Regions from separate parts of the Homo sapiens genome. Here region 1 is linked to region 2. The links are contacts of gene promoters, found by promoter capture Hi-C in blood cells and fetal thymus (Javierre and others, 2016). All regions are on one chromosome and are shown on one strand. Each heading gives the region's core, a stretch centred on a gene start or on the middle of the fragment in contact. The rest is flanking DNA. Distances are from core to core; before and after follow the strand shown.

Region 1 (2,759 bases), core at 252-2,751, 110 kb after region 2:
ATATTTTTTACATTTTTTGTAGAGATGAGGCCTCTTTATTTTGCCCAGACTGGTCTTGAACTCCTGGCTTCAAGCAATACTCCTGCCTCAACTTCCCAAAGTGCTGGGATTCTAGGCGTGAGCCACTATACCCAGCCAAATTTCTACTTCTTGCTTGTGCAGAGCCTCAAGGTCAGCCAGAGAAATGAGCTTAGGACTTTCTTAAGTATTTCCTGGGCCTGTACACAGCTCTATACACATGCATGGACTTCCAGATTTCCAGGAATATGTTGGAACTTGTCAAAGCCCCCTATGGAATGTCATTCCCCAGATTTTTCTAAGTTTTTTTGGTCCGATTTTTTGCTTACCCAAATTGTTATTGCTGCTTCATATAGCTGTTTCATTGTATATAACTGCCACTGATTGTTTTCAATAAACACTCTTGGTGAAAATGTTGTCACTGGGCAAGCTCTAGTAGGTCAGATAAAGACAAACTCTGCAAGTGGGGTTTTCCAGGGAATTCGCAGACAGGTCAAGCAATGACAATTCTCTGAAAATGAGGCTTTGAAAGAACTCCAACCCTAATGTGTGTCCCCCAGAAGCTTCTGGTTTTCACAGTAACAGTGGGCTATTGGTTTTCAAGGCTACCACAGAGGTGGGAGAGAGGCATAGAAACAAAGCAAGTTAAAATGTCAAAAAAAATTTGTTAAGATTCAGTCATTTTTCTTGAATTAATGCTTCCTGAATTGTTGCAAGCTTTTGTTTAATATCCAGGATTCTGAAGAAGTTGACATAATATTTTCTAGTGTTTTTGTTGCTTTTGTAGAGGAGATGATATTCAATGGTTCTTATTCCATCATTCTTGCTGATTTCATCATCCAATACAATTTTTAGTAAGACCACACTGCAACTTATTTTACCTTTCTGTGCCTCAGCTTACTCATCTGTTTATTGGGAATAATATTAGTGTCTACCATGAGGGTTTTTGAGGACAAAATAAGTTAATTCATGTAAAAGACCTAGCATAGTAAATGTTAAATATTATTATTTCCCTCTTGTTTTCTTGGCTTTCTAATTTTCAATTTGATATTCAAGAACATCTCACTATTTGGGAAATGAAATGGGAGTCAAAGAGCCTTTAGTCTGGGAGTAATCACTGGTATAACTTGAGATGTTACTGATTTTAAGACTGAGCGCATCTGATTTGGAACCAATAGATCTCCCCGCCATCCCCAACCTCTTGCCATTATTTCCCCTTACCCCTTAACACTTGATTGCTTTCTTTCCATTGAGCTCACTCTGCAGGGTATTCTTCTGGTTGCTCTGGAAATTGATCACTTTCTCATTTAACAAACCCAAGTCCACAATGGCACCTGACAGAAAACACAGCCCTTGAGGGAGCATGCCCTTGAGGGAGCACTACTCAATATTTTAAAGTCATACAATTAATACATGGTAAGTACACAAGCCCTGAAGTATTACTTGGGCTGATAAAAGATATAGCACATGCCCGGGGAAAAGCTCATTACATGGCAGCAAAATTGTCTCATTGATGTTTCAATTCCAGAAGGACAACTGAACCACTTACTCAGGGAAATTTTACATGCCATAAATGAGGCAGAAGGAGCTATTTATCATATTGTGTAATTTCACATACTTCCACTCCCTTGTTACTGGAAGCAACTTGGTATGAGAGGAAAAGCAAATGATTTGGAGCTACAAAGACCTCAGTTCAAATCTCAGCTCTGACACTTATTACCGGTATGACTTACATGAATTCTTTGAGTTCCACTTTTTACAAATGTGAAAAAGAGATAATAACATAGCTCATAGATATTTGAAAGATTAGAGGAGCTAATACATTCTAAGTATTTAGTAGAATGCCTAGCCACATGGTAAACATTTAATAAATATTGAATTTACTTTTAAATAATTTTTCTTTTTCTCCTTCCATACTAATTGAGTTTCCTCTAGATGGCAAACACAGTGTTAAATAACTAGCAAACAAAACATCTGTCCTCTTTCCTAACAGAGAGAGTTTAAGGGCTGATGGGAAAGAATGACACTGAACATTTAAAACAAACAAGTATCAATTACAAGTTGTAATTAGGACACTAAAAGAAAAGAACTTAGTCTGTGGGAAAATAATAGGGGGGACCAATTTAGATTAGGCAGAAAAGGAAGTTCTTCTGAGGAGGAGCCATTTAGGCCTAAAAGATGAGAAGTGGCCACCTGGATGACAGGGAAGGAACCGCTTGGGGAAGGATTCTGAAATAGGCAAAAGCTTGATGTGTTCAAGAATCTGGAGGATGACCAGTGTGAATGCAGCATACTGGAGGAGGGAGAAGGTGGCTGACAGCAGAGTGAGGCAAGGGAGAGGTCATGGGAAGCATTGCCAGGTAAGCATGGAGGAGGAGGGAAAGGGCGAGAAGGAAGGAGAAGGACAGCTAGAATTCACTGAGCACTTGCTGTGTGCCAGGCACACTTCTAAGAATTTTACATTTATTAACTCACATAACACCCTAGATGAGCGGCCTGTTATTGTAGGCCTTGTAACGGGGCTTGTGTTTATTCTGAACGCAATGGGAAACCATTGAGGGATTCTCAGCAGAGAGAGCCGTGTTTGGGTTTAAATCTCACAAAGGGCCTGCTGCTGTGTTGAGGAAAGATTGGAAATATTCAAGAGTAGAAACTAGTCATTATATTCTTAACCACTCTTTTCCTCTTACAAACCCTGTGACTTGAAGATTTGTTGGATATAAAGTGCCTTCTAATGAATG
Region 2 (2,761 bases), core at 198-2,697:
AAGTGCTGTGTGAAATGGCGGGAATTTTTTTCCCAGCACTTTTGAATCCAATACAGAACTAGCTGCCAGGGAACTTGGTATATTAGCTCAGTTTAAAATGGCAGCTTAACAAATTCAAAACTTTCTTTTTAATTAAAAAAAAATGCCCCAACTTATGTCTTGCAATGCCTGTAAATCATGTTTGTCTGCAAGTGAGACTGAAGTTTATAATATGCCAAGGACTACGGTAGCTCTGAAAGGCTCCCTCATACCACAGGCCAGAGAACCTCTCCGCCCTCCACTGGGTTTGTTGATTTTTAGAGGGAAGGATTTTAAGCAAACATACCTTCCCACAGATGAGCCCCTGGAAAGCACTCGGGCCGTTCATTTCCAGTTTCCTGGAAACTGTTTTCTCCCGTAGCTTGACTGTGATGCTCCTACCTGGCGGCCACATATGAAGACCCAGGGTGTGTGTAATGACAGACTGCCCATTTGGTTTAAACAGAAGCAAAACAGGTCCTTAGAGGGTTAGCGCCGGGCCCCTTCATTTCCCTTTCCGGCCTTAAACCTTCTGAACCATTCCTAGCCCCAGCTGTGGTTGTCCAACAAAGTAAATTGCAGCCCATACTCCCTAGGAAGATGACCCAACGTGACTCATAGTCTTCAAGTTACAAAGAGTTGGACGGATGCTTTGTGGGGGTTGTTATTCTCTCTCGCAGGCAGACGTGGCCACCAGCCCCAACAAAGGACACGTTGCACCGCCCTGGCCCAGGCCCAGGTCCATGTGATCAGCGAGGCCAGGGTTTTTCCCAGGTCCACTTCGGACGTACCCAAGCTCCTCATCCTACTCTCACTGCCGCCCTATCCCTCCCACCCTTCCCAAGGGGTCCCCCTGGGGCCAGAAATTATTGGGGGACTCCCTGTACTTCGGGGAGACCCACCGGGCCCATATCGCATGTCCGCTCCACGATGGCCTCCCATTTTGGTCTCCCCTCTGAGTTCCAAGACTCACTGCACGCATAACCAGGTCCTTCTTCACCTGTAAATAAAAAGCATGACACCCCGGCGCAGCAAGACACACGACACACAGCTGTACAGACAGACACCCCCAACAGCCAGACTGACGCCCTGCCCGTGGGGCGCGCGGCCAGGTCCCCTCCACCAGCGCGGCGGTCCCGGCTCGGCTCCCTCGGACTCACCAGGTCCACCACCTCCCTCTGCCGGAGCTGCGCCTTTTGCTTCCCCTTGGGGATCTCAGAGGCGCTCGACGGCGCGGGCAGCTGCAGCAGCAGGAGCAGCAGGAGGCCGCGGAGCCGCTGCGGGGAGGCGGCGGGGCCCTGGGGTCGCATGGCTCCCGGCTGCCGGGCAGCGCGGAGCTGGAGGCGGAGGAGACCGAGGAGAGGAACGTGGTCAGCGTCTGGCTCCGCCGCGCTCCGAGGCCGCCGCAGGCTGCATCAATGCGCCTTTCACCCGCGCGCCTCTCTCCCTCCCTTAATTCCTCCCGCCCCCGCGACACCCGGAGCTTCCATCCCGTAATAGGCCCCGAGCCCCCACCCCGAGCCCGGCGTGGGGGCGGACCGAGAGCCGGGCCCGCCCCCTCCTACTGCAGTCGCTCGGCCTGTCAGGACCCCCGCGGGGCTGCGCAGACCCTCGTGGAGAGCCCGCCTGCAGGGTCTGGGCGGGGTGGCCCGTGGTCAGGAGCCGCAGGTCGGGGATTCCCGCAGGTAACACAGCGCCGCCTAAATGAACATTTTAGAGACACGTGGCTTAACCTGGGTACACGAGCCACCTTCAAGGGTCGTCAATCTATGGCATGGGTCGGCGAGTCTTATTTGTTTTTTGTTTGTTTGTTTGTTTTTGAGACAGAGTCTCGCTCTGTCGCCCAGGCTGGAGTGCAGTGGCGCCATCTAGGCTCACTGCAAGCTCCGCCTCCCGGGTTCACGCCATTCTCCTGCCTCAGCCTCCAGAGCAGCTGGGACTGCAGGCACCCGCCACCACGCCCGGCTAATTTTTTTTTTTTTTTTTTTTTTTTTTTTTTTGAGACGGAGTCTCGCTCTGTCGCCCAGGCTGGAGTGCAGTGGCGCGATCTCGGCTCACTGCAAGCTCCGCTTCCCGGGTTCACGCCATTCTCCTGCCTCAGCCTCCCGAGTAGCTGGGACTACAGGCGCCCGCCATCACGCCCGGCTAATTTTTTGTATTTTTAGTAGAGACGGGGTTTCACCGTGTTAGCCAGGATGGTCTCGATCTCCTGACCTCGTGATCCACCCGCCTCGGCCTCCCAAAGTGCTGGGATTACAGGCGTGAGCCACCGCGCCCGGCCCCGGCTAATTTTTTATATTTTTAGTAGAGACGGGGTTTCACCGTGTTAGCCAGGATAGTCTAGATCTCCTGACCTTGTGATCCGCCCGCCTCGGCCTCCCAAAGTGCTGGGATTACAGGCGTGAGCCACCGCGCCCTGCCTTATTTGTTTTTTGGAGGTGACATTTTTGGAGGCTGGAAGGTGGGGGTGGGGCGGAGGCAGGAAGAAACCATAGGTATCATCAGGTTTTCCAAGAGTCCCATGACCCAAATGATATATAAACGCTGTTTTCATAAGTGCTAACACTTACTAAGCTCTGGCACATTGCAAAACCTTGCACGCGTACTCTGTCCTCTCAGCAATCCTGGCGGGTTGGGAGGGGTAGATGCCTCCTGGGCTACTCTCATAAACGAATGAGGAAACTGAGGCTCAGGGAAGTTAATCAATATCCAGTGGAAATGGTAGAAGTTCACTTTTGAGTAC

What was found. Contacts are between HindIII fragments. The CHiCAGO score rates a contact against its expected background, and 5 or more counts as called.
Region 1: a fragment that was not itself captured here is called in contact with the fragment with the promoter of CTHRC1 in region 2 in 1 of 17 cell types (endothelial precursors); the score reaches 5.9 in endothelial precursors.

What each region holds. Positions count from the first base shown.
Region 1 is chr8:103,257,068-103,259,826 of GRCh38, reverse strand. All of the region lies in intron 1 of LOC105369147 (a long non-coding RNA gene), which reads left to right. Among named protein-coding and RNA genes, the nearest start is that of FZD6, 40 kb to the left of the region's middle. The HindIII fragment of the contact is 1,528 bases long and covers 738-2,265 here.
Region 2 is chr8:103,370,224-103,372,984 of GRCh38, reverse strand. It overlaps CTHRC1 (collagen triple helix repeat containing 1), which reads right to left and starts at 1,447. Exons shown (of 4, transcript NM_138455.4): 1 at 1,179-1,447. The coding sequence starts at 1,328. RefSeq lists enhancers at 199-992, 993-1,787 and a silencer at 1,444-1,563. The HindIII fragment of the contact is 4,990 bases long and covers 1-2,761 here.